7 separate regions of the Homo sapiens genome follow, and regions 2, 3, 4, 5, 6 and 7 are each linked to region 1. Evidence: promoter capture Hi-C in 16 types of primary human blood cells and fetal thymus (Javierre and others, 2016). All regions are on one chromosome and are shown on one strand. Each heading gives the region's core, a stretch centred on a gene start or on the middle of the fragment in contact. The rest is flanking DNA. Distances are from core to core; before and after follow the strand shown. Region 1 holds the start of CHIC2 (cysteine rich hydrophobic domain 2). Region 2 overlaps PPAT (phosphoribosyl pyrophosphate amidotransferase). Region 3 holds the start of SRP72 (signal recognition particle 72). Region 4 overlaps DCUN1D4 (defective in cullin neddylation 1 domain containing 4). Region 5 has its middle 7.5 kb from the start of DCUN1D4. Region 6 overlaps REST (RE1 silencing transcription factor). Region 7 overlaps POLR2B (RNA polymerase II subunit B).

Region 1 (3,862 bases), core at 138-2,637:
CACATAGCTAGAGTTCAGTAGATATTTGTTGAATGAACAAATACCCTCCAGGGAGGGATACAATAAGTCTGATACAACTACTGTATTTTTCCTTCATTTTTTCTTGGCTAACCACACTCATTTCCTTCAGTTGTTTCCAAAAGGAGGTTGGCATCTCTCACTGTCCTCATTGACCTCCTTTGCACTTTCTCCACGTCAACAGTGACCCATCTAAAGCCGACTACTGTGACATGAACACTGCACTTGAAGAGCCTGACCAGCGCTGGGCTCAGTAGAACTATCCTTTCTTCTCCCATGGTGTATCCTCACTGTCCAGGACTCTCTTCTCAGAAGCCCACTCCTTCCCCTGTGCTGTTTATATGCTTAATGAAACCAAGTACCCAAAGTGACCGTTCAACTGTTACTAGGCAGCTAAGTAGACTCCATTAAACCTTTTCCTTCCTTCCTCCCCTTCTTTCTTTCTCTCCCATTCTTCTTTCATTCTTCTCGTCCTTCCTTCTATCCTTTCTTCCTTCCTGCCTCCTTTTCTTCCTCTCCTCTGCCCTTTCTTTCAGGTCTTTTTTGTGGTAGGAACTGGTAAGAAAAGGAAAGGAATTCCCTAAGATTTTAAGGAAACAACAACAAAAACCAGGTTATGTTTGGTGAGAGAGTTGGGGCAAGAAACTGCATCTTCTAATATGGAATCCAGGTAATTTATCAGTTTTTTTTCATAGCATGACTACGGTGAGATTTCTTGTAAGAAAAAAAAAAAAATACCAGCATCGCTGGCCTCATATATTGGATTATACTTAAGGGGATCAAGGGATAAGATGTTTGAATTTGGAGATGTCTTGAAAAATCCTGTGGTGAGCACAAATGTTTGCAGTGTCTCTGCTGGACTCCTCAAATTGGGAAAAAAGAGACTCTGGTTCTCATCATAGACTCAAAACCTGAGGAAAAGCGAGATGCGATTATTAGATAAACTGGCAATGACACGCACAAAAATGTGTCTATTCCAGCCAGGGCTTTTCTTTTCAGTTGTTTGTTTTGGTTAGAGATGACTTTGGGGAACTGCATGTCCCACTGGACATTCCAAGCTGCGTTGTCGGAGTCGCGGGTCGCGGCCTCCAGTCAGCGGAGCCGCCGCCCCCAGGGTCCGCCACCCAGAAGTCGGCGGAGGGGGGCCCGCCGGCGGGAGCGCGCGCCCCGGTCGCCGTCTGCGGGTAGAAGCAGAGGAAAGACGGTGGCCTGGGAGCGCGCGAGGCCGCACGTGCGCGCGCCCGCCCGCCCGCCAGCCAGTCCGCTCGCCCACGCGCCCACGCACGCGCCCGCCCGCCCGTTGGCCCGGGAAGTCTCGCGATGCCGTAGCCGGCTGCTCCCGCTGCGGGTGGCTCGGGCTGTTGCTGTGGTTTCCTGAGTTGCTGCTGCTGCGGCGGCGGCAGCGGCGTCTGTGCTTGTGGAGGTGTCGGCCTCTGGGCGGATGTTGACATTGTGTTGTTGTTATTGCTGATGGTAATGGCGGCGGCGGTGGCGGCGACGGTCCAGACCCCATCCCCTCTGTAGCCGGAGCCGAGACAGCCGACAGCGAACTCCGCGGCCTCGGAGCCGGCGGCAGCGGCGACTCCCCTCAGCCTCCGCCGCCTCGCCCGCCGGTACCCCGGCGCCAACCCCGGGAGTCAGGCCCTTTGGGCAGGGGAGCTCGGAGGCTCAGGATGGCGGATTTCGACGAAATCTATGAGGAAGAGGAGGACGAGGAGCGGGCCCTGGAGGAGCAGCTGCTCAAGTACTCGCCGGACCCGGTGGTCGTCCGCGGCTCCGGTCACGTCACCGTGTAAGGCCCGGAGGAGGGCGAGGGCGGGAGGTGCGGGCTGGGGTGGGCCCCGTTACTCCACGGGAGCCCCGTTTCCCCTGTGTCCGTCTGGTGTCGGGGGCCTTCCGAAAGAGTAGGCAACCAGGAAGTGAGAACTTGGCTTATTTTCATTTGTTTGGGTCTCCGAAGTGGGGACGGACGCTGTCCTTCCTCCTCCACACACCCCTTTAGCAGGCCCTACAGGCCCGGGCGATGTGACGATCCCAGTAGGCACGGGTTTTCATTAGGGTCTGCCCTGCGGGCCACCCTTCCTCTTCAGGGTGGAAGTACGTGTATTGACAGGGAGCCTCCTTGTTTTCTCGCCCAGTTACCCTGTGGTTGTCTGTGCCTTTGCACCCAGTGACATGGCTCAGAGGCCAGATCTGGGCCGTGTGAGACCCCAGTGACAATTGGCAGCGAAGCTCCGTTTCGTGTCTATTTCACACATACCCACAGGTCTCCCAGTTTTTCCACTAATTTCCGCAGAACTAATGCAAGTTCTTGTAATTGTACGTGATAAAAATATATAGTTGAACACAAATTTAAGATATACAGAAAGAAATATGTTTACAACAACAACAACAACAACTACGTGAGGGACATACACTCTGCTCAGGTTACTGAGGGAAAATTGTAGTCCTGAAGCTCCTCCTTGGGGCACGAACTTGGGGCTTGTTAATTTGGAAAGTCCCACTAGTAACATTAAAAGTCTGATATTAATAAGGAATGAAAGCTTTCGGAAAGACCATGACAAAGGAATGTGAAGCCTTGAACCAAATAATGAGCTGTCCGGAAGCAGGAAGTTTTGTAATGTTTCACTATGAAGTCCACAGTTTTGTACCACTTGATGTATTACATTGATACTCTCTCATTTTAGATCTCTTGTTCAAATAATAGATCAGACTTCCATACTTGTCAGGTATCTCTGTACTTCTTCACCTTTTCAGTGAAACAAAAGAGCCAGCAAGTCTGAGAATGTCTGGAATAGTCTTCATTATATTTTGGTGAAGAGTGAGTGGGATGTGCTGTGAATAACTTAGGGAAACAGTAAGACTTCTCATATAAGTTTGTCAGCAAAATAATTGCATTTCTCGTATGACCAGCCATATTGTTGTTTGAGTATGCTTATGTAATGCTTTAATTTCTTTAGTACCTGTTAGTTTATGTTCAGGTGACTTAACAGGGTAAAAACACTGCATAATTGCCATCACAGCACCATGACAAGACAGTGGAATTTAATTCACCACAATAATACTTTCTAAGTGTTGTCACCAGCTTAAGAAGTATAACCAAATATCATGGATATTAAACTTTTAACATATATCACAGAATTCATAACCTGCCATTTGATTTTATTTTGACTTTTAGGACCTTTTTGCACTGTTTTAAGCCTAAGGAGTATGTGGATGCTTAAAGAAGTGATTTCCAAACTTTGTCATGCCATCTATCCCTCCTTCTACATTCCTCATGTCAAAGAAAAGCTAGAGAATTTTGTCATTTAAAAAGGCGACGCTGTAGTTGTAATGTTTCCTCTGTTAAGGAGAAGAAAAGCTAAGCACTTTGTTGGGCAAGTGGAAAATGCAATAGTGGGCAAAGTGCTCAGAACCTAGGTAATCAGTAAACTTGATTGTAGTTGGCTACGTGGAGAGGTTAATAGGGTAGAAAATAATTATTAGTGGTTTTCAAACTTAGCTGTCCATTAGAATCCTGGGTGTCTTTAAAAAAAGACCATTGTCTTTGCTCCACCCCAGGCCAGTTGAAGGCCAAATACTAAGTGAGGGTCCTAGGAGTGGACAGTTAAAATAATAAATAAATAAATAAATAAATAAATAAAATCTCACAGGTGATTCTAATGTGTAGCCAAGATTGAAAACTATTCCAGGTTATAGGGAGGGACTATCTATCATCAATAAACAGTATGCCTTTCTACATTGTGAGTTAAATCTCTGATTTTCCTCAGCAACTTCCTTCTTCTCCCATTTATCTTGGTTCTAGGCTCTGGGTTAAAATCTATCTCAGCTACTTCCTGGATAA
Region 2 (4,096 bases), core at 1,026-3,525, 2.3 Mb before region 1:
TAGAATGGTAGCTGGTAGGGTTGGATGTGTGTAGTTTCAAGATAGAAAGTTGGTCAAGAAGTTATAGTGGTCACACCTCATCTATTTACTGTTACTCAGTTGGTACAATGTAAAATGCCATGCTTATGTTTATAAGTTTTGAGATTTTTTTTTTTTCTGAAAAGGATACCAAAGTGCGATAACTGAACATTTCCAATTGCATATAATACAACAATATGTGGTGTTCTTTTTTTTACACAAGCATTGGCTAGCCTTTTTAACCTGGTCAGAGAAGGCAGGTGGTCACTGACATTTCCCAAGTCCATGCTTTAAAGGGTTTGCAAGAAGTTAGGGTTAAGGAGAGGTGATGCCAACAAGACAGGTGAGTTAAATATACCATTTCACACAAAGTTTGAATAGAATACATTATACCTCATAGGTGTCTAGCCTCTACAGTTCTGGCTGTAGTTATGACCTTGGCTTCCCTGTCTAACTGTAGACAAATCTTTAAAAAAAAATAATAATAATCTGGTGCCTCAGTTTCCCCACATGTGCAATGGGATACTTATTAAATAATTAATAAGAATGTGAATAAGTGTCATACTTTTGTGATTTGAGCCATCATTTCACTTCTGATTTTAAGACAACTCATGATTGTTAGCTTTCAGAAAGCTAATGATTGTTAACTTTTTGAAATTAGTTTACAATTAATTAAGATTTCATTATGATGGAAGGAGACATAATTGGCAGATCTTTGCCATCTCTCTTTGAGATGTCCTAAAAAGGGTTGTAAAAATCTGTGAAAAAGTTTTTCCTACATTTGACTAGAAAATGTGATCCATAGTATTTAGTGCCCTGATACTATAAGCTCAGCAAGTAACCTGGTACATTTGAAATAAAAACCAAATTTTTAGATTCAAACAATCCCTTTATCCTTAATTTAATTAATTATCATATGCTTTTTTTAATGAAGTGCTTGATCACTTGCAAACATATATACATGTAGATGTACATATACATGTACACATACACATAAATATTATTGCAATTAAGTGATCAAGTACAGACACAATAGGGGCCAGTTTTGTTTAAGGATCAAAGAGACAACCACTTTGGGGAATTAGTATCAACTTACAATCCAAGTCCAAGTATCATCTTATAATCACTTTTTTCTACTATATTAAGATCTAATGAATTTGATTTCTTTTTTGAAGTTTTTTCTTGTAACATCTGAGATTAGAAGTTTAAGATGACTTGACCCCAAACCTTTGTTTATGTAAGAATTTTTAAACATAAAAGTGTTTGTTTCTGTTATGTTACCATAATTTGATGTATATAGTGTCCAGATCCATTTAGAAATTTAATATTTATTAATAACTGAAACTGTTTGTCTTCCTTTGGTATATAGTCTCGCATATTATATTATAGCAGGCCAAGATAAAATTTTGACAGCTCTTTAAGCCCACATGCAGCAGTGGGTCAGATAACCCTGTGGCAGTGACACGGGCAAATTGGCATTTGAATAAAGCCCTGGGACCACCTCAACATGCGTAGCCTCTTGTCTTAAATGTACTCCCCATGGCAGCATGGAGGAGGCAAGACCTGTGGGTCAATTTTGAACTGGCCTTACTTTGATTTTTAAAACAAGAGACTCAGGGAAAGTACTAAACCAAAATCTCTGATTTTACTTTGCGTTTTCTGTAGTTTTTGTTTTACTGAGATGCTTTTGTAAAGGAAAATAATACTGTGACAGTTTAGTAATTCTACAGATTCTTAATATTTCTCCATCATGGCCTTTTACTTCACAATTTTCTGAAGTCTGAATTCAATTACAATTTTTTTTTACCAATTTAATCTCAAATGTTGTTTAACTGCTTTAAATTCATATACGTAGAGTATTATAAACTGCAGAGATGAAAAATGTGTTTTCACGGGATTTATATTGTGAACTAAACTAAGCCTACTTTTTGTGACTTATTTGTGATGCCTTGTTGATAAATATGTGTAATAAGTATGTTTAAATATGTGTGTCCTTTTTTTTTTTTTTTTAAATAGTGACTTTAGTTAGTGCTTTATGGTAAACAGCATGGAGACAACTTCCAGGCTCCATTCTTGGCACCAGCTAGTCATATCTTATTTCTCTGATCCAGGCATTTCAATAAATAGGCCATCTCTTATGAACCAGGCAAAACTGCTGGTTGACTATGAGGGACAAATTAAGTAATTAGAAAAGCAGTACTAAGTAAGCACTACATCGTGGCAAGTTCCTAGGAAGCACTATGGGGAAAGAGGGAGTGTCATGGAAGAGCAGGATTAGATTCAAAGTGTCAGGGTGGGTAGGTAAATGAATAGATAAACTGTAGTACATTCAGACAATAGAATATTATTCAGTGCTTAAAAGAAATGAGCAATCAAGCCATTAAATGACAGAAGGAACATAAATGCATATTAACTAAGTGAAAGGCACCACTCTGAAAATACCACTCTGAAAATATTGAAGGTATCCAAAGAAAAAGTCTCCCATGTTAAGGATAAACTGGTCACAGACAAGAAAGATTACTAGTAGGGCACCTGCCAGTGTTAAGAAAATTTCTGTGCAACTAGGTAAACCTTGGTCGCTGGACTGGATCTTTAATTCTTCTAGGTTCCTCCAATCCAACTTTCTTCCATAGAATTACTAAAAACGAGACTTGCTATGTTCTTAAAGCCCAAGCTCAAACTTAACTGAATTTTAAGGGAGAAATCTCATGCCCAAAGGTTCACAAAACTGCCCAATGCTATAACCAGAGACATTAAAACTGTAAACCAGAATGAAAAGCTAACATCTCCATACTGTGGGCAGCTTTTCCCAAGATGATGGAACATAACTCCCCATCCTAATGACACTCTTGCCCCTCTTAATTCTTCCTTGTTTATGCCTACCTCTTTGATTTGGCAGGATAATTTCACAATCGGTAGATATTGTGGGTGACTTGACAGAATCTGACTTCATAAATCCTTTAGTCCACCCAGGGGGTAATACTGGCAACATCCTCAGTAAACTTTTTGTTCAAATTGTACTAATGGTCTTTTTTAAAACAGAGTTAGCTCTCTCTGCTTTAATTCAAGCCAGTCATGGAATGCTAAGTAATAGGATTGCTGTGTACCAGCTAAACAAAGAGATGTCTGTGCTTTTGCTCATACTACATGCTGTACCTGGATACATTCCTTTGGGGAATTTATATACACAAAATAAGAAAATAGCCCACATGGTATAATAAGTCTCACCTAATTCTTCATGATCATTTGATTTATTCAACTGGTTGTCTTTAAGCCTAGGTTCACGGCTGAAAACTATTATGCTGAGATTGTTACTTTGTATTTTCTTTTTTTTTTTTTTAAGAACTTTATACCTGTTTCTTGTCAAATTTGCATAGAAATGCAACTCCTAAGAGAATAATGCTCTCCCAGCACTTTGAGATGATAGACAGTGCCTATGGAACAGACAGAATTGAACTTAACAGTGGACTCCAGGTAGACTTAGCCTGAGATCCACTCCCTCCAAACCTCTTTTGTTGTTCAAATGTGGCTAAAGGGTTTTGATGCTAATTCCTAGTTACCAGTGACTCCCTTCAACATGAGGGCAGACTGGCACCAAGAGATATCAAAACCTAAATACAGGATGATTGATCAGTGATGCTTTTGAGAAAGACCTTGATCAAAAGGGGAAATGTGAAAGTTGTCAGATTCAAAATGGAGTCACTCGTATTAAAACCCTGGCAAACGGAGCCAGGAAACGCCATGAAGGGGAAGGGTTCTCATGTACATATGGTTGATAACAAGAACTATCAAAAGACTACAAAAATTTACAACCTGCACAAAGGCCACCACAACCTTAAACACAACACACACACACACACACATACTTCTGCAACGACATCTGCCTAGCAACTGCCTATCTAACTTATGGACTGACACCACCCTTACCACGCTTGTTATTGTTAAAACAAACAGTGAGGTTTATTTTTATTTATTTATTTATTTTTTGAGATGGAGTCTCACTTCGTCACCAGGCTGGAGTGCAGTGGCGCAATCTCGGTTCACTGCAACCTCCACCTCCTGGGTTCAAGTGATTCTC
Region 3 (4,192 bases), core at 626-3,125, 2.4 Mb before region 1:
ACAAAACAATAAGCCATATTTCTTTAAACTTGTTTAAGAAACAAATGATTAGCAAAGAAACAGTAACTAGAAATCTTAAAAGAAGTACCTGTAATCAAACAACTGGTAAACACTACTAACATACACACACTTAAAAATTCATCTACATTAATGTGATACCTCATTGTTGATGTTTCAACCATAATCCATGAGGAAAAATATTTATCAAAGCAAAGGCTAATGTCCTTTATTTACTTACCTAACAAAAAATTTATTTTTGAGCCAGGTGTGGTGGCTCATGCCTGTAATCCCAGCACTTTGGGAAGCCAAGGTGGGCAGATCACTTGAGGTGAGGAGTTCAAGACCAGCCTGGCCAACACGGCAAAACCCTGTCTCTACTAAAATTACAAAAATTAGCTGGGCGTGGTGGTGCACATCTGTAATCACAGCTACTTGGGAGGCTGAGGCAGGAGAATCGCGTGAACCCGGAAGGTGGAGGTTCCACCAGCCTGGGCGACAGAGCAAGACTCCTCCCAAAAAAAAAAAAAAAAAACTTTTATCCAAGACTCATTGACAAAATGTTTTTGAAAATGTCTCTTTTCTCACAAAATAGCCCAAAATCAAGAGACTGAATTTTAGCAAACATATTTAATAGGAGAAAAGCAGCATTGCCTCTATTTCCCTTTTATTTTTAATAAAGTTTACAATTAATTTTTAATCTCTAACACATTTATACGCCTCAAATATAAAAAGAAAAAGAGATACACTAAGAGGCTTTATTCCCACTGCTACCCAAATCTAACCTGTTCCTATTACCTCCTACAAATGACTTTTTTTTTTTTTTGAGACGGAGTCTCCCCGTCACCCAGGCTGGAGTGCAATGGCACGATCTCAGCTCACTGCAGCCTCTGCCTCCTGGGTTCAAGTGATTCTCCTGCCTCAGCCTCCCAAGTAACTGGGAATACAGGTGCACACCACCATACCCAGCTAATTTTTTGTATCTTCAGTAGACATGGGGTTTCACCATATTGCTCGGTCTGGTCTCAAACCCCTGACCTCGTGATCCGCCCTCTTAGGCCTCCCACAAATGACTATTCATTGTTTCTCTTTATACTGTTTGTTTTGCAAATACAGGCAAATGCATATATAAATTTTTATATCCTCCTCCTCTTGTAAAAGGAAGTATAATATATATTGTTCTGCACCTTATAAACCAGTATCCCATTAATATGCTTCAAACTTAATTTCAATACATATTTTTTTGGAGCCTAGGTATAACAGTAAAGAAACTTCGACTGAGTTATTCTTGCTACATCCTCCAACGACTCATAATTATGCCCCACAACTCTCTATGGTTCACCTCCTTAGCGGTTCAAAGGAAACACAGTGGTTAAAAAAAAAAAAAAAAACTCTCTAAGGCTGAAAAAAACAGAAGTTACTAGTATTCCTTCCAGTTCAGAAACATTATTGACAAGCAAAAGGGGGGAAAAAAAGGAAGGAAAAAAACGTTAAAAAAAATCAGCAAATAGTTGGGAAAAAACATGGAAGAGATTATAGCTATAGTAAGTGTTTCTAATAACTGTACAAGCAACTAACTGAATCACTTACTTGGCTAACACTTTGGTGTGAGTATTGATGACATTCAAAGCTTCCTTGAAACTTCCATTCTGGATAAGGCATACCACTTTACAATGCAGGGCAGTTACGTCATCTTTGTTGATCTGTAGTACTAGAGAACAATTTTAGGAAAAGTCATTTTTAAATCCATTTCCTTTTCACATTTTTACTAAATTTTCCCACCCTGTCTCTCCGAAAGCTAAATTTCTACTTTTATTGCAACAGAAATAATTGGTCAGAACAACTGGAAGAAACAGCAACAAAACAAAACAAACCCAGAAAACAACTAATCTTTGCTTTTAACTTAAGAAGTGACAATAAGGAGAGTTATAGATTAAATTTTCAATGAGATAAAGATTCCCAATATACATGTACCAAAAAAGTGCAGTGAAATAAAGAAGAAAGAAGCAATTTCTCCAGATATTTCATCTTGAAATGCATGCTACATTCTACATAGTTCATTACTTCACAGGGAAAAAGTTCAGGTAGAATTTGGAAGCAAATGACCTAGGTTTGGTGCAAGCTTGCCACTAAATGCTTTGAGGTATTGGGCATATCACTTAACAGCCAAATCTCAGTTTTCTTAGCTACAAAATGATTAGAAAAGCATTACCTATTTAATAAGGTTACTGACAATATGAAATGAATATTTTGGAAAAATCTTATAAAGTATAATACAAAGGCAATTTATCTTGCTGGCAACGTTTCCAAAAATCATTAAAATTTCCCCTTTTCAACTAAGATGACCAAAGTATAAGGAAGAACTCAGGTGGCAAGTTTCAACGCTAACAACTGTTCGGTGTTAAAATGACCAGGATCATAGTTACTCTTGCTCCTGTGCAACTACAGAAGTCCAATTCTCAAAGAATCACAAGAATTTCTACCAATTAAGAAAACATACTGGTAAACAAGTTGACAATCTTTGCTGATTAAAGAATTCCTGCAAAATACTATACTAAGTATACAGTACTGGTTGGAAGGCTAGAGTTAATTCAAACAAATTTAGGGATCAAATAATTCTAATTCGTAGCTATTTTCCTCAATGTCTGAAATCACCAAAAGTGCACTGTGGGCACAATCACTACTTTTCACGTTAACCCAGTACTAGAGTGTTGAAAATTACTTAGATAGCTTTGCATGTTACTGACACACCTTTTAGGTTACTGCTACTCTGAACAGCTAAGCCCTGCCTTGGTAATTACATTTCCAAATCTAACATGCACAGGCTGTATCTTCAGTAGAGAAGAACTGCGCACCACCGAGAACATTAAGCAGCATGGCCATATTCCAGGTATGTAGTAAGGAACAAAAGAATATGATGAATTAAACCTCACACCAAAGGCGGTAAAAACCGAAATCATCCCTTACAGGGCAAAAAAACAGGCCAAACTTTTCTTCCGACATTATTTCAAGTGTTGGTGCTTCCACACACATATTTCCTAACTTAATAACACTGAAGAGATCTCATCTATGGGAATGACAGGCCTGACATCCAGATCCAGCCCTTTCCTCTCGCCCCGTAGAACCCGTACAGCTTCCACCTGGTTAGCACCAGCCTCTAAACTACGTGTCCCAAGCAGGTTCCTCCCCCTTTAGCGGCCAAAGAGAACAAGCTCCCTCAGCAATAGAGTCCTGATCACTGCGCTCAAGACGAAGAAGAAAAGGAGGCACTTTGGAATATTTGTGAAATAAAGCAGCAAAGGAGTCAAATAAGAAAACAGTTTGAAATGGACTCCGGGAGCTGCGGTCTCTTTAAAACCTTCCCTCGCTTCCCGCGGAGGGTAAAAAGAGAAGTACACGTGGCTGTAAGCAACCAGGGACCCCAGGCTGGCCTGGTGAAGCCGAGGAGTGAGACCTGCGTCTTCCGGGCGCTAGGGCCCGAGCCGGGCGGACAATAGACGGGGGGGTTTCGGGGGTCTCCCCTTCCCGTGCCTCCCGCGCGAGGTGGTCTCGCGCGCCGGAAACAGGCCGCATCCTCCAGCCGGCCTGGGCCCGCCCCAGTGCCCACCCCGACACTTACTCTTATTGACGGTCTTGAGAGCGCGCGTGAAGTCGCCGTTCTGGCCATACCGGTTCACTTCACTCCACAGCGCAGGTACTGACACCCCCCCGCTGCCGCCGCTCGCCATCTTGGAGGAGACGAGGGGCGGGGCGGGGAGACCTCTGCCCCGGAACAGGATCTCCGAGGCAGCCAAGAGGAGGAGGAAGTCGATGATTGCTAAGCGTCGCCGAGTTGGGAGTGTCTTCAGCCCTAAGGCAGCATCAGAGATCATAATCTTCTGCTCTCGTGGCAAGAAATTTGTGCGGATAGAGTTGATACACCTCACTTGAAGTTGGCCTGGAGAAAAGAGGCGTCGGACTCCTGGACGGGGTTGGGAAACGGTCACCAGTTTCGGCTCAAAGCAGCCTGTTTCCAGGAGACCGCCATGGTCGAGGCAGCGTCCTGGTCCCACGGTGCGGGGCCGGACGATCATTTATGGGATATAAATAAAAGGACTATGAGGTGGTAAATAAAAGACTACCAACTAGAAGCCATAGGGAGTCATTTGAAGGAGAAATAGGCACGGCTCATCTGTGGTTGAGGGAAAGGGATCTT
Region 4 (3,955 bases), core at 14-2,513, 2.2 Mb after region 1:
GAAGGTGAGCACAAATGATCTGTACTACCCACTGAAGCACACAGAATCACTGGGTAGTTCACAGTAAAAATCTTTCCATCTCACTAATGTTAAATGAGCCCAGATTTTGGTTAAAGAATGTCAATCAGCTCTGATAACATAAAGCCCTGGGTTGGAGTCAGAGCTCCAACTGAGTCCCAACTGAGTGACCCTGTACATGCTTCCAAACTTCACTGTGCCCGTGTCCTCATCCATAAAGCCGAAATAACAGAACCTCTTTGCGAAGCTACTGTGGGGATTATTAAATGAGATGGTGCATGTCAAGCACTTAGCACAGTGCTGGTCCATATTATGTGCCAATCAACGTTAATTGTTTTCATCCCTATTATTATTTAGAACGTAGAAGACACTGAGACAGACTGAACCTAGAACTACAAAAAGACAGGGCAGAAGAGATCACAAGGTGATGGTGTTTAAAACTACTAATTCACTAGCTATTGGACTTAAATGTACAACTATCCCGTTTCCTGTTTAATTAATAATTAAGAAGTGATCTGTGGCTTAATTTTGGGAATTGCATATGTAGGACAAGACATTAAACTTACCCTAACCTACAGGAAAAAAAATAAAAATAATTTCAAAAATGTTATGTAAAAATGATGTTAGTAGTTGTTTTCTAGTTTTGCTGCAATGTCGTTGAGATCTCCTATATTTAAAAATAACAAAGTCTATTTAAATAAAATCTAAGAAGACTAAAAATGACTATTTCATTAGTTAAGAGTATGAAAATACTTTGCCACAATTCTTCAGTTTCCCACTTAAAATCAGTTTTTAAATGTCTACTCTCATTGTAAGCAAACCAGCAAAAATGAGAGGGGATGAAGAAGAATGGGAAAGAAGAGACTCAGAAATCCCAGATCCTGATCCTGCTGGGACTCATTCCAAGAAGAAAAGAACCAAGAGATAATCCATCAGCTGGCTCTGTCAGCATCATTCATAGGCCAGTGACAAAAGAAAAAAAAAGAATTCCAATATACATGCAGTGTTCCAATCAGGGTTCAATGAAAAGCACAAACAAAATGTTAAGAATGATTTCAGTGGCAGTAGAGGGTTACCAAGACCATGGAGTCAGAATGCTTGAGTTAGAATCTCAATTCACCACTTATAAGCTGTGTGACCTTGAGAAGGGGAGTTAACCTTTCTACACCTCAGCGTCCTCATCTGTGAAACAGAGATAATAACAGTCCCTAACTTATTGAGGGTTGCTGTGAGGATTAAATGAGTTAATGCAGGCAAAGCAGTTGAAGCAAATCCAAGATCATCACTGAATTCGTGTTAGTCCCTCCCCATTCCCCTTTGCTCCTCCTCCCTCCCTGTGCCCCACCTGGGACTTCTCTTTCCTTCTCTCAGTTCCTTTCCACTCATACACTCTCCCTGGTGCCTCTTTTGAGTTCTTCCCACCGACCCCACCCCACCCCTGCCACCAGCTCCTGCCTAGCCCTGCACCTCACCTTCCCCTCCACTCTAGCCTACCAAACACCCACTCTCCTGCCACAGTTCTCTGTCCCCACCATGCCATGTTGTCGCTGGGCTTGGAAAGCTCCCACCTGACCCCATATGCCACCTGCACATGCATACACATCCTGTTCTTCACATAATCCAACTTCAAAAGCTAAAACTCACATGACAACTGCTAACCATTCCCCACATGTTCTCAAAGCCCCCGGGGCATCCATCTAACCTAGCAGGCATCATCGTCCCATGCATCCATTCCTTCTGTCTCCACAATGAACTCACTGAAGGAAGCTCCTGAAGCCCCGGTCTCCCCCACACAGTCCTGCCTGTGACAGCAGCACCTGGCAGCAAAAATCCCCTTGAATGTTTGCTGAATGGCTGAGTGAGGGAATGCCTCATTTGGTTCTGTTCTTTCTTATAACTTTTCTTCTCAAGAGTGATTTTTTAAAGGCTACCTAGGAGACTGTCATCACACAGTAATTGTAAGCATCAAAAACACTTTACGTGTTTCATCTCATTTAATCCTTTGGACCACTTATGATTTTTGCCTCCTACTTTCTTCCCTCTGCCCTCCCCCACAACTCTAAGCACCCCAGCCTCTGCTGTTCCTCAAATATAGGCCTGCTCCCCACTCTGAGCTTCTGCATTTGTATTCTCTCTGCCTGGAATGGCCCCTCAGCTCCATCAGGGCTTAGCTTAAAACCTCCTTAGTGAAGCCTTTCCTGGCTCCACTATTTAAAATTACAACACCCTCCACCCCACCCCACGCCCGCACACAGGGGTGCCTGCATGCACCCCTTCCCTGCTGTTTTTCTCTACAGAACCTATCACCATCTGACGTATTACACAATTTACTTGTTACTATCTGCCCCCTCCCCTACACTAAAAGGAAAACTTCATGAAATATGAAGAGCAGGGCCTGGTACATAGTAGATACCCAATAAACACTTGGTGACTGAACAGCCTTCAACAGGCAATTTTTAGGCATGAGGGCTCTGAAGCGCACACAGAGCAGCTGGGTAACTCTACTCCAGTCCCTTGGCTAGGAGATGACAGAGCAAGGATTTGAATTCAGCCATTTTGGCTTTCTTGCCTCCCAACCTGACCCAGATAACAATTAAAAGACATCATCACATCCAGGGAGAAAACCCGAGCCCTGCATGTCTACAGGCCACAGAGAAGCCAGAAAAGCCATCCACTGGAAAGCCGCTCACCAGAACAAGTCATCTAACTCAAGACACTTCTGTGCGGCAAAGTATTATTTATCAGACTGATAATTTATACAGCACTGATAGTTTTTCTTTGGATTTCATAGTTCAGTAAAAACGAGAGATTTATCATGCCTTTATTATACTGTAATATCCTCAGGAACAGCAAAGTGACAAATCATCAGCTAATATGGAGGAGGCCTAAGGTAACATATGTTAAAAGCCAACAATTGTGGTAGTGGGGCAGGAGGAGAAGCACTGACTACAAGGGGACACAAGGGAACTTTTGGGGTAATGAAATGTTCTATATCTTTAGTAAATTCACCCAACAACACTTAAAATGAGTATAATTTTATAATACGTGAAATTATACCTAAATAATGTTGACTAAAAAGGTATTTGGTACATCAGATGTAATTTTTGGCTAAACAAAATAAACATTCCACTAAAACACGCACACACACACACGCACGCACACACACACATATTTCTGTAGCTAATATTCCCACATCAGAGCCAAAAAAAAAATGCACAAGGAGTTATGTATTAGCTCCTAGGCATCCCAACTTTTGGGGGACAAAGAATTAGGAAAAAGCAGCAGTAAAGAGTGGCACATGATGAGACCCAGTGGGCTGGGCTAGTGTGTGGTTCGGGAGTCCTGCCTGACCACCAGCAAACACAGCTCCCACGACCCACAGCTGATATCGACTGTGTCCTCCTCCAGTCCTCTGGGTCACCTCTGACCAGAATGTACAGGCAGCCAGGATGAAAAAGATACATCACTGCTCTTCACAAGGGCTTCTACCACGTATCTGACCAGCGACAGTGACAAGTCTGGATGCTGAAGTATCAGAATTCTTAGTTGAGAGCATCAGAAACTAATTCTAGGTAATTTAAACAGAAAAGTGATTTAAAAAAAGGGGAGGCGGCTATTAGACAGTTCACAGAATCTCCCCCTGGCCATAACAATGCCTAAGGGGACACAGCAGACTGCATCATCATTGCAGCAACAACTAGACCTTGCCTCTAGAAGCAGCACAGCAGCCACCACTGTGCATCCCCCCAGAAAATGGCCACATGGGCTACTCTTCTTTCCTTGCCTCCAGCCTCAGGTTCACAGTCTCAGGCGAGTGTGTCTGAGAAGATCTGCCTGCCAGGGTAAGAATTCTCCAATCAGACCAAGAGTCAATGGACTGACAGTGTCCATTACAGACACTAATCATAAACTAATATGGAGGAGGCCTAAGATGACA
Region 5 (3,680 bases), core at 627-3,126, 2.2 Mb after region 1:
ATCCGCCCGCCTCGGCCTCCCAAAGTGCTGGGATTACAGGCGTGAGCCACCGCGCCCGGCCTAAGATTTCTTAACACATCACTATCAGGGTAGCATTAGCAAGTCTTTTTGCTAATATTTTATTCCAGTACAGCCATAGAATTCTTAAACTGACTCTTTTCCTTTTTACTCAGGACCTTTTATTTTATGGAAATCACACCTGCCTAGGGAATTAACAAAGTATTTGAATAAAAATGTATTCATTCATTACCACATGTTCTTCTCTGAATTGAGTACTTTCACCTTATTCTGCATTGAGCTAATCAAGTCCTAATGATGCTGCATTAAATTTGATCTCAGAAGGTGCAATTTTCCAACTGAGTCTAAACAATGCATGACCTTTATGGTGTTTTTCATAAATATAGCATTGTTTCAATTACTCCAGCTAGCAGGGGCTGGACAGAAAGAATAATCATTTTATTTGGATAATGGCTTCTGTGTATTGTCAGGCTCTTAATTTCTCCTTGCCTTCTCTAGCCTGCTACCATGAATACAGTGTCTTTCTAACATCCCTCTCAGGGCAGTACAGGAGACCCCATCCATCTCCGGTTGTTGGTGGCTGCATGGCAGCTGAGCATCTCATTATGGCAAAGTGAAGCATTCTGGGAGAGTGGATGGGGAAGGCAGACAGCAATAGGAAATGGGGGAGGGAAGAGGAGGATGGGAGCTGTGGAAAATATGTGCTCACTTCCTTGGTGATGATAATGTGTTATGGAAGTAAGAACTTCCTGTCCTAGTGGGGAAGAGCATGAAGTATGTCAAAAACCCATGATTAAGCAGATTCCAGACCCTACAACCGGGTTACAGCCGCCTCAGCCACCCCGTTCTGCCCAACACTCAGATCTGAACCCCCAGTTGAATCTACCACAGGGGCTATGTTGGTGGGAGGAAAGCAATGAATCCAAGCACTGAAGAAAAATCTATGGTTCCAAAATTGAAAAAGAAATAAATTTGGACACACACACATATGTTCATCTGCAGGCACGCACACAAACACATGCAAACCACTAGCTTACCCCATTGAAAAATATTTATTTCCAACTAACCCGAATGCTTACATTTTACTTTGTTACACTGCCTCAGCTAAGACAGGTTAAAGCAAATGGTCCTTAACATTTTAGGGGTCACAGACCCCTTTTACTAATCATTCACAGTGATGATTATCAAAGGCCTGCAACCCACTCATGCTACCCCACCAGCTCCTGAGTTAAGAATTCCTAGATTAAACATTCAAGTTAACAAGTATTTTATTTTTAAAAGCCAGGGGCTTTAGGGAACAATCCATGGCTCTCAGTAATTTTGTTAGTGAGAGATTAGTTCCACTCTGTTAGCTTTCCTCCCGAGTCTGGTTGACATCTGAGCCTGCACTCAAATGATGGGAATTCTGTTAGGGGGCTGGTGGGTTAAGTGAACAGTTTCAGGCTGTGGAGCAGTGGGAGGAGGAAGGCTTGGCTTGGGGGGCCAGTATTTTAAGGCAGTGGGAAGGTACTTTACATGAAGCAAGAGAGGAGAAGAGCTCTTGGAGATGAAATGCCAAGAATAGATTTCATCTCTTTCGAAATTTTACCCAATTCCAGCTCCAAACAGGGGTCTAGTCAGAACTGCTTCTTGTGAGGCCACCCACACCCAGACACAGGTACCCCCACCCACAGTCTTCCTTTGCCATCTCTCTCATCTCATCATGGCATTCCCTCACCCTCAACCCGAGGCCCCAAGCAGCTCCTCAAGCCCCAGAAATGCCCCAGACCTCCCAGCTGCCCTGTCCCCACCCCACAGGCTAGTCTTAGCCTACAAGTCCAGCCTTGGGCCCCCACAATAGCTTCTCTCTTATTCTTTACTCTTCCATCTCACAAGCACTTTTTCTGGCTTCAAAGCACCATCACCACAACCTCAGTGGTTCCTAAACCTCCATTCACATTTTATAGCTTTAGCTTTGAGAAACATTTCAAATCCACAGATAACAGATTGGGGAATAGAAATATTGGCAAACATTTTAAGTACCACTGACTTTGTAGCAGGTACTGTCTCAAGTACTCATGTTAAGTCATTAATCTTCCCAACAATCCCAAGAGGTAGACATTTTTGTAAAACCCACTTTATGGGTGAAAACACTGAAGCACAGAGAGGTAAAGTAACTTTCTCAAAGACACACAGCTAGTAAGTGATGGAAGTCAGAGAATGAAATCCTAGCAGATGAGCTTCAGATTGGTATTTTTACTCACTGTGCTATGTTGCCTCTTTGATAACATTTTACAGAGGGCTGCTTGCCCACCCGCTACCTGCATCCCCAACACAGATTCCAAATTCTTTAATGTGAAAGCTGTGCTTTTTTTCCTAGCATCAGTAAACACCTAGCATAGTCTTTGGAGTCCAAGGCAAATCTCCTGTATTCTCTCTGCCCACCATTACAGGCAACATGAAACACAGTTTCCCCAATATCAGGGTATGGGCCTTTATTCTTTTCCTTGATAAGCAGATTAGAGGATCTGGAAACAGGACCACAAGTTGGCATATGTAAGAGTAGGTCCCTAAGTAGCAGAGTGTAGTTACAAGCAATGCGACTTTAAAGGATTGCCATTGTGCATGGATCAGACGTGCGTCATTTGCTCCCATTCTCCCACATCCTCTTTGGGAGCCTCTGCTCCCCTTTCCAGCTTCCTGTCCCGGGTGCCCAGGGCCTCTGACCATGGCTCTTGGTGGGTGGCCCTCCTGGACAGACTGCTCCCATTTTCGGGACAAGGCCCATTCTCAGCGAGTAAAGGCAAACCTCACTCTTTGTTCCCTAAACTTGTGAATAGGCTGAAGAAGATTAAAAAGAGCTTGAACAACATCCTTGAGGAAAGCCGTGGAGAAGGAGCCTGAAGACTCAGAAGGAGAATAGACTAGTGCCAAGATTATTCTATTTTAATGATCTAGGGAAGGGTATAGGGCCAGTCGGGTGTGTAAAAGCCTCATGTCCTTTCAGCATCATGAAATGGAGATGCTTCTTTCTTCCCTGCCTCCCTGAAGCACTCTCAGTTTGTGCTACTGGAGCACAAACTACCACCCCCAAAACCCCCAGCACACATACGAAGTATAGACCCCAAGGGAATCAGCCTAATTCAGACACCCTAGACATGTTTGTATTTAGGACCTATTTTGATTAACTTGCCCTTATCAAAACTTGCTTTTCCAACGTCTCATTCCCTCAGATCCTTGTGGATGATTGGCTTGCTGTTCTCGGTTAGGGGAGAAATATAGATGAGTTAAGATATTACCCCTTGCAAACAGATTTACAGCAAAAAAAAAAAAAAGAAAAAAAAAAGAAAGAAGAAAAGAAAAGAGAGAGAGAGAGAGAGAGAGAGAGAGAGAGAGAGAGAGAGAGAAAGACTCCTAACAAACAAATGGCTCAACACCAAAACCTAAAATACTTCCCCAAGCCAGGCTCCCACTCTGCAAAATCTCCCCCCTTCTACTCTTGGTATACAAATCCTCATCCACCTTGATGCCACAGCTTAAAGCTCACCTCCATTAAGCCTTCCTTGACTGAGGCTCCCCACAGTCATGTCTTTTTCCGCTTACTGCCTCCAGCACTAGAACAGAATTTTGCAGGAGAACCAGAACCAGAACCAGAACAAAAGGGAATGGAATCTTGGGGCTAG
Region 6 (3,936 bases), core at 898-3,397, 2.9 Mb before region 1:
ACATAATTAAACCCCATCTCTGCTAAAAATACAAAAAAAATTAGCCGGGCATGGTGGTACGTGCCTGTTGTCCCAGCTACTCGGGAGGCTGAGTGAGACTTCATCTCGTTTAAAAAAAAAAAAAAAATAGCCTGGGCTGAGCATGGGGATTGTGGCCCCTGACTGTAACCCCAACACTTTGGGAGGCCAAGACAGGCCAATCATTTGAGCCCAGGAGTTCAAGACTAGCCTGGGCAACATAGCAAGACCTCCTCTCTACAAAAAACAGAAAAATTAGCCAGGCGTGGTGGCGCATGCCTGTGGTCCCAGCTACTTGGGAGGCTGAGATGGGAGGATTGCTTGAGCCCAAGAAGGATGAGGCTGGTGTGAGCCATGATTGTACCACCGTGCTCCAGCCTGGGTGAAAGTGAGACCCTGTAGTCTCACTTGGGAGGCTGACGCGGGAGGATCACTTGAGCCCAGAGTTTGAGGCTGCAATGAGCTATGACGGCACCACTATACTCCAGCCTGGAGTACAGAGAGAGAGCCTGTCTCTAAAAATAAAAATAAATAAAAAACATTAAGCTAAAAAGAAAAATTTAAGAGAAGGTCATCAATTTTCTTTTTATTGTTTTTTATGAGACAGGGTCTCGCTCTGTTGCCCAGACTGGAGTGTGGTGGCATGAACGTAGCTTCTGCAGCCTGGACCTCCCGGGCTCAACAGATCCTCCCACTTCAGCCTCCTAAGTAGCTGGGACCATAGGCGTGTGCCACCAAGCCCAGCTAATTTTTTTTTTTTTTGGGTAGAGACCAGGTTTTGCCATGTTGCCCAGACTGGTCTCGAACTTCTGGGCTCAAGCAATCCGCCTATATTGGCCTCCCAAAGTGCTGGGATTACGGGCATGAGCCACCATGCCCAACCAGTCATCAATTTTTAAAACAAATTATAAAAGCCACAGGGACTGAAGACTAGAGGCCAGTGATTTAATACTGAAGAATTTAAGACTCAAAGGTAGGAAACGTATATTCTTTTTAGACATGGCTGTCAACAACAAAACAAGCCTTTTTTTTTTTTTTTTTGAGACGGAGTCTCACTCTGTTGCCCATGCTGGAGTGCACTGGTGAGATCTCGGCTCACTGCAAGCTATGCCTCCTGGGTTCACACCATTCTCCTGCCTCAGCCTCCTGAGTAGCTGGGACTACAGGCGCCCGCCACCATGCCCGGCTAATTTTTTGGTATTTTTAGCAGAGACGGGGTTTCACCTTGTTAGCCAGGATGGTCTCGATCTCCTGACCTCGTGATCCACTCACCTCGGCCTCCCAAAGTGCTGGGATTACAGGCATGAGCCGCCACACCCGGCAAAACAAGCTTTTAAAAAAAGGTATACAATTTGTTTTAATATAGTCTCCAAACACAAGATAATTATGACCTTGGTAAAGCTACTAAAACACCGTTTCCCCATCTGTAAAAGTAACAGAATCTTCATTTCCTGTAATTGCAAAAGCTTAAATAATACATGCAGAGCATTTAACACTGTGTCTGGCACATAGTAAAGCCCTCAATAAATGTAAGCTATCAATTTTGTCTAAGACAGAAACAAATGTGTCTAATAAAATAAGGAAAAGGTGGTACACAGAAAAAAGAACAGGCCAGGCATGGTGGCTCATGCCTGTAATCCCAGCACTTTGGGAGGTAGGCGGATCATTTGAGCCCAGAAGGCCGAGGCTTCAGTGAGCCGTGACCACACCACTGCACTCCACACAGGGCAACAGAGCGAGACCCTGTCTTAAAACAAAAAACAAACAACAACAAAAAGAATGGTGATAGATGGGAAATGTGTTCCTCATAACTATTCTGCTGTAATTCGCTGGTAGCTACGAATTAGCTGTAAAGAGTTGGTAGCAACAGAATGCCTACCTTATGACCTGGAACAATTAAGATAGTTTTATGTTAATGGAATTCTGTAAAAAAAAGATTTACAAATAGCCAATAAACACATGAAAAGATGAACATTATCATTAGCAGTGAGGGAAATGCAAATCAAAACCACAAGGAGATGAAGACTTCATATCCACTAAGATAGCTGTAATCACAAAGACAGATGTTAACAGTATTATTGCTAAGGATGTGCTGAAATTGGAACCCTCACACATTGCTGGTGGGATTGTAAAATGGCATGGCTAATTTGGAAAACAGTTTGGCAATTACCCAAAATGTTGCTACTATACTGCCCCACAATCTCACGCTTAGGTATATATCCAAAAGAAACAAAAACATACGTCCACACAAAACTTAAACATGAATATTCATAGCAGCATTATTCAGACTGCTTATTATGATTCCACTTGTGTGAAATATTCAGAACAGGCCAATATATAGTGAACTGCATATGTAAACTGTATCTCAATAAAAAATTAAATACCACTGCAGATAAACTTGAAGAATCAAAGATAATTTACTTTTAAATTCTTTTATTTTATTATTATTTTTTTTTGAGACGCAGTCTCGCTCTGTCGCCCAGGCTGGAGTGCAGTGGCGCGATTTTGGCTCACTGCAACCTCTGCCTCTTGGGTTCAAGTGATTCTCCTGCCTCAGCCTCCCGAGAAGCTGGGACTACAGGCTAAGTGTTGTATTTTTAGTAGAGACAGGGTTTCACCATGCTGACCAGGCTGGTCTCAAACTCCCAACCTCAGGTGATCTGCCTGCCTCCCAAGGTGCTGGGATTACAGGCATGAGCCATCTCGCCCAGCCTGCTTTTAAATTCTTTACAACAGATTACTTTATCTGTGTAATTCCACAAACTAGGCATAACTCTCCTCCAGAAAGCTTAGTTACCTACTGATTTTTCAGTTACACATACAGGCAAAAAGGTTTTCTTTAAAAGTAGATTTTGTGAACAAGTTAAATATCAAAACCACTAAACTAAAGAGGTCAACCAGAATGAAAGTCCCCAGCTCCCCCCACCCTTTTGGTGGAGGTTGCAGTGAGTCGAGATTGCTGAACTTTAAATGCTACTTGTAGTTTGTTTTTGAGACAGAGTCTCACTCTGTCCCCCAGGCTGGAGTGCAGTTGCACAATCTCGACTCACTGCAACCTCCACCTCCCAGGTTCAAGCGATTCTCCTGCCTCATCCTCCCAAAGTGCTAGGATTACAGGCGTGAGCCATCGTGGAACGGCTATAAATGATACTTGTATATGACCTTGGGAACATCACTTCAGCCTTTTAAATCTGAAGTTTTCCCCTGTGTAAACATGAACTATCATCACAGATGCTATTTTCCTCAATGGATTGTTCTGAAGATTAGCACAGAATAGAAGGGCACAAGAAACACAATTAAGCCCACTAAGCCAATCAGAAAACTGGGCTACTTACTAATGCAAGTGGAAATGAGAAGTAATTCCTGAACACTATCAATTTAAGTGATTCCTGTCTTTTCTGTCTCTACTCTTCCGCACCAGATGAGTTTATTTTCCATAATTTTCAGAACTATCCATTTAATACCAGAGATACTTTCAGAATTTACATAATCAAAATATTAACCTTCAATCTATACATCACCAAATTGTTTTAAAATGTAATAAAGGCCAGGTTTGGTGGCTCACGCTTGTAATTCCAGCACCTTGAGAGGCCGAGGTCAGCTGATCACAAGGTCAGGAGGTCGAGACCAGCCTGGCCAACATGGTGAAACGCTGTCTCTACTAAAAATTTTTTAAAAAATTAGCTGGGCGTGGTGGCACGCACCTGTAATCCCAGCTCCTCGGGAGGCTGAGGCAGGAGAATCACTTAAGCCCTGGAGGCAGAGGTTGCAGTGAACAGAGATCACGCCATTGCACTCCAGCCTGAGCAACAGAGCAAGACTCCATCTCAAAAAAAAAAAAAAAAAAAAAAATACACACACACACACACACAAAATTGGCCAGGCGTGGTGGCTCACGCCTGTAATCTTTGGGAGGCC
Region 7 (3,884 bases), core at 423-2,922, 2.9 Mb before region 1:
AGGAGACAGAACCAACAGGGCTTGGTGACTGATTAGATATAGAGGTGAAAGAGAGGAGTCAAAAATGATGCCCAGGCTTTCGGTTTCAACAACAGAGGGTACAACAGTTGTACCTCAGTGTCCATTGGAGACTGGTTTCAGGACCTCCCATAGATACCAAACACAGATGCTTAAGTCCCTGACATGAAATGGCACTGTTATATACCCTAGGCACACATCCTCCTGTATCTTTTAAATTATCTCTAGATTATTTATAATACCTAATACAATGTAAATGCTATATAAATAATTATTTACTTGTAATGTTTATGGAATAATGGCAAGAAAAAAAAAGTCTGTACATTTTTACAAGGACGCAATTTTTTTTTAATATTCTCTTTTTTGTTTTTTGAGACAGGGCCTTGCTGTTACCCAGGCTGAAGTGCAGTGGTGTGATCACAGCTCACTGTAGCCTCAAATTCTTAGGGCTCAAGCAGTCCTCCCACCTCAGTATCCCGAGGAGCTGGGATCACAGGCACATGCCACCATGCCCAGCTAATTTTTTAAATTTTTTTGTAGAGATGAGGTCTCCCTATGTTGCCCAGGCTGGTCTCAAATTCCTGGCCTCAAGCTTTTTAATATTTTCAATCCAAGGTTAATTGAATATACAGATGTGAAACCTACAGATACAGAGGGCCAAATGTGCCCTTCACCGAGACAGAGAAGACAGGAGGCAGTGGCTTTGGGAGGGGAATAGCAAAAGAAAATAATTAGCTCAGTTTGGGCAGTTGACAAGGTTAAGCAGCCTGGGAGATATCCTAGTTGGCTAGTGGCAGTTAGATACCCCAGATTTTAAACTAGAAGTATACACATTCAGAAGTTATCCGCATACAGATGGTAACTGAAACAATGGAAAATGGATGAGATCACCCAAGGAGAATGTGAACAGGAAAGAAAATGAGAAAAGTCAGATAAGAAAAATCAAGTGAAAGTGATGTCGCTAGAAAGCTGAGTGAGTTTCCGGGAAGATGTCATCAACAGTTTTGAAGACCACAGGGTTTAGATAAGTTTTAAATATCCATCTCATTTATCAATTGAGAAGTCGCTGTCAATCTTAGAGCTATCTTAATGTAGTAGCATGAGTAGAAACATATTGTAATCAGTTGAAAAGCACATGAAAGATGAAAATTAGAAACAAGGACAGCTTATTATTTTTATAAGTTTGGCTGTGAGTGAAAGAAGAAAGGTAAAATACTAGAAGAAAAAGGTAACAATGAAAAGAATTTAACTTGTTTCCATGTGGATGACAGAAATCTGACATTTTCACATAGTGACTGAAAACTGATGAGGACGTTATCTAATAAACATTTCAGAGGACATGGGCAATAAAATGTAGGTTCACTGCTAAAGCAACCCTGATAAACTCTTTTTCCACAGGATCATTATACATTGCTAATAAGAATGCAAAATTAGTACAATCACCACTATGGTGGTCACTTGGCATCATCTAGCAAAATGTTAAACGTGCATATCATTTGACCTGACAATTTTATATGTAGAAATGTATCCCACAGACATACTTGGGCAAATTATACGTACAAGATTATTCATTTACAGCACTGTTTGAACCCGAAAATGACTAGAAATAAACCGAATATCCATCAAGAGACTACTTAAGTTATGGTACATCCACACAAACTAAGTAACTGGGGGTGGGGACACGGGAGGGGGGGCGCGATGCTTTCTGTGTACTGATACGAAAATCTCCTGGACACATTAAACAAAATCTAAAAGTGGAGAAAAGTGTGAATATTACTGTCTTTAAAAAAAGAGAAAATCCCATTTATATTTGCTTAAATATGCATAAGGAAACTGTGGAGGCTGGGCTTGGAGGTTCACACCTGCAATCCCAGCACTTTCGGAGGCCGAGGCAGGTGAATCACCTGAGGTCAGGAGTTTGAGATCAGCCTGGCCAACGTGGAGAAACCATCTCTACTAAAAATACTAAAATTAGCTGGGCACGGTGGTGTACGCCTGTAATCTCAGCTACTCGGGAGGCTGAGGCAGGAGAACTGCTTGAACCTGGGAGATGGAGGTTACAGTGAGCCGAGATTGCGCCACCACACTCAAGCCTGGGCAACAGAGCAAGACCATCAAAAAAAAAAAAAGAAACTGTGGAGTGATAAGAACCTCTTATAACTGTTATAACTGTAGTTACCCACTGTGGAGAGTTCAAACTGGGCAGATGGTGGGTAAGAAGGAGACGTGACACTTTAACTTGTTTTTTTTGAGACAAGGTCTCACTTTGTTCTCAGCTCATAGCAGTGTCAACTTCCCAGGCTCAAGCGATCCTCCAGCCTCAGCCCCACAAGTAGCTGGGACTATAGGTGAGCAAGACCACGCCCAGCTAATTTTTCTATTTCTTATAGAGAGGGGTCTCCCATGTTGCCCAGGCTGCTCTCGAACTCCTGAGCTCAAGTAATCCACCCGCCTCAGACTCCCAAAATGCTGGGATAACAGGCGTGAGCCACTGCACCAGCCACCCCACTTTAACATTTTTAAATTTTCTGGCTTGTGAGCTATGAGAATATATTACCCAGCCAAAAATTATGCTTTAAAAATCTTTTTTTTCGAATTTTTCTTCTACTGAGATAGTAGTTAAAAAAGAACAAGGAATATAATGATGCTAATAAATTTCTACAACACAAGATATAAATGAGACAGAAGTTTAAACAGCTTTAAAAGTTTAAGCTTTTGGCTGGGCACATTGGCTCATGCTTGTAATCCCAGCACTTTGGGAGGCCGAGACAGGCAGATGGTTTGACCTCAGGAGTTTGAGACCAGCCTGGGCAACATGGCCAGACCCCATCTCTTAAAAAAAAAAAAAAAAAATTAAGCTTTTGCTTCAATTTTTTCCATCTGATTTATCAGAAGTACCTGAGGGAATAGAGAGAGGAGATGTAGGGGGTGGCCAAGGAATTGAGAGCTATAAGAAAATAAGGTTTGAATTAGCAGATATGGAGAATGGAAAAGGCGGCTACGAAAATACACTAGACTCAACTAAGAATTTTTTTTTTTTTTTTTTGAGACAGTCTAACTCTGTCACTCAGGCTGTGGTGTAGTGGTGCGATCTCAGCTCACTGCAAACTCCGCCTCCTGGGCTCAAGCGATCGTCCGGCCTCAGCCTCCCGAGTAGCTGGGATTACAGGCGCACGCCATCACACTAGGCTAATTTTTGTATTTTTAGTAGATACAGGATTTCCCCATGTTTGTCAGGTTGGTCTCAAGCGATCTGCACATCTCGGCCTCCCAAAGTGCTGACGGGAGCCACCGCGCTCGGCCACTACTAAGAATTCCATATGCGCAAACAAACAGGTATTATACATTGGCCCAGTGCAGCAGAATACATATCATCTGAGAACTGTGACATTGTGAGAAGAGGAAGTTAAAAGTCATCCTTTAAGACAATTTACTTTGACTTACAAACAGTATGAAGAAATGTCAGACTAAACCGAGTCCCCCCCGCCACCCCCACCCCCCGATATTCTCTGTCCCGGAATATTTCCAGGACCTTCCACACTGCCTGACACAGGCTGACACTCAACAATTGAGCTATTCGTTAAGTCGACTGTGGCTTTAAGGAAAATTTTTAAAGGGTGCCCTTTGCTTCAAATTCAAAACGTAATTTATCTTACGATTCTGCACGCTACTTCACCACAGGAAACGAGGATCAGATCTAACGGAACGAGAAAGTGCAGAGAGCAGCAGTGAACGTAACCTGGAACATTAACACTATGTTCCCTGCACCCTCCGCCTCTCCCTACCCCAGTTTCGTTCCCGGCCTGGTAAGTGTGGGAACAAGGCTGGGGACTGTGCAGCCGGCGCATGGGAAGGCCCCAAATCCT

Evidence for each region. The method cuts DNA at HindIII sites, captures the fragments that hold promoters and counts their contacts. A CHiCAGO score of 5 or more calls a contact.
Region 2: a fragment that was not itself captured here is called in contact with the fragment with the promoter of CHIC2 in region 1 in 1 of 17 cell types (non-activated CD4 T cells); the score reaches 5.6 in non-activated CD4 T cells.
Region 3: a contact is called between a fragment that was not itself captured here and the fragment with the promoter of CHIC2 in region 1, in 1 of 17 cell types (non-activated CD4 T cells). The highest score is 9.4, in non-activated CD4 T cells.
Region 4: a fragment that was not itself captured here is called in contact with the fragment with the promoter of CHIC2 in region 1 in 1 of 17 cell types (naive CD4 T cells); the score reaches 5.4 in naive CD4 T cells.
Region 5: a fragment that was not itself captured here is called in contact with the fragment with the promoter of CHIC2 in region 1 in 3 of 17 cell types (naive CD8 T cells, non-activated CD4 T cells and total CD4 T cells); the score reaches 6.7 in naive CD8 T cells.
Region 6: a contact is called between a fragment that was not itself captured here and the fragment with the promoter of CHIC2 in region 1, in 1 of 17 cell types (non-activated CD4 T cells). The highest score is 6.0, in non-activated CD4 T cells.
Region 7: a fragment that was not itself captured here is called in contact with the fragment with the promoter of CHIC2 in region 1 in 4 of 17 cell types (naive CD8 T cells, non-activated CD4 T cells, total CD4 T cells and 1 more); the score reaches 8.2 in naive CD8 T cells.

The regions. Positions count from the first base shown.
Region 1 is chr4:54,062,130-54,065,991 of GRCh38, reverse strand. CHIC2 (cysteine rich hydrophobic domain 2) reads left to right here and starts at 1,387. Exons shown (of 6, transcript NM_012110.4): 1 at 1,387-1,810. The coding sequence starts at 1,692. RefSeq lists silencers at 1,080-1,319, 1,550-1,679 and an enhancer at 1,479-1,979. The HindIII fragment of the contact is 3,181 bases long and covers 1-2,563 here.
Region 2 is chr4:56,391,267-56,395,362 of GRCh38, reverse strand. It overlaps PPAT (phosphoribosyl pyrophosphate amidotransferase), which reads left to right. Exons shown (of 11, transcript NM_002703.5): 11 at 1-2,001. The coding sequence ends at 11. Among named protein-coding and RNA genes, the nearest start is that of AASDH, 5.8 kb to the right of the region's middle. The HindIII fragment of the contact is 6,954 bases long and covers 1-4,096 here.
Region 3 is chr4:56,467,169-56,471,360 of GRCh38, reverse strand. It overlaps SRP72 (signal recognition particle 72), which reads right to left and starts at 3,744. Exons shown (of 19, transcript NM_006947.4): 1 at 3,617-3,744; 2 at 1,588-1,708. The coding sequence starts at 3,725. It overlaps LOC124900706 (a long non-coding RNA gene), which reads left to right and starts at 3,803. Exons shown (of 2, transcript XR_007058126.1): 1 at 3,803-4,192. RefSeq lists an enhancer at 3,690-3,899. The HindIII fragment of the contact is 492 bases long and covers 1,630-2,121 here.
Region 4 is chr4:51,849,066-51,853,020 of GRCh38, reverse strand. The region is part of intron 1 of DCUN1D4 (defective in cullin neddylation 1 domain containing 4); the gene reads right to left. Among named protein-coding and RNA genes, the nearest start is that of DCUN1D4, 7.9 kb to the right of the region's middle. The HindIII fragment of the contact is 7,268 bases long and covers 1-3,955 here.
Region 5 is chr4:51,833,767-51,837,446 of GRCh38, reverse strand. It overlaps a transcript of DCUN1D4 not described here. Among named protein-coding and RNA genes, the nearest start is that of DCUN1D4, 7.5 kb to the left of the region's middle. The HindIII fragment of the contact is 7,583 bases long and covers 1-3,680 here.
Region 6 is chr4:56,915,175-56,919,110 of GRCh38, reverse strand. All of the region lies in intron 2 of REST (RE1 silencing transcription factor), which reads right to left. Among named protein-coding and RNA genes, the nearest start is that of REST, 9.2 kb to the right of the region's middle. RefSeq lists an enhancer at 3,843-3,936. The HindIII fragment of the contact is 1,322 bases long and covers 1,487-2,808 here.
Region 7 is chr4:56,979,077-56,982,960 of GRCh38, reverse strand. The region is part of intron 1 of POLR2B (RNA polymerase II subunit B); the gene reads right to left. Among named protein-coding and RNA genes, the nearest start is that of POLR2B, 2.1 kb to the right of the region's middle. RefSeq lists an enhancer at 3,692-3,791. The HindIII fragment of the contact is 2,120 bases long and covers 613-2,732 here.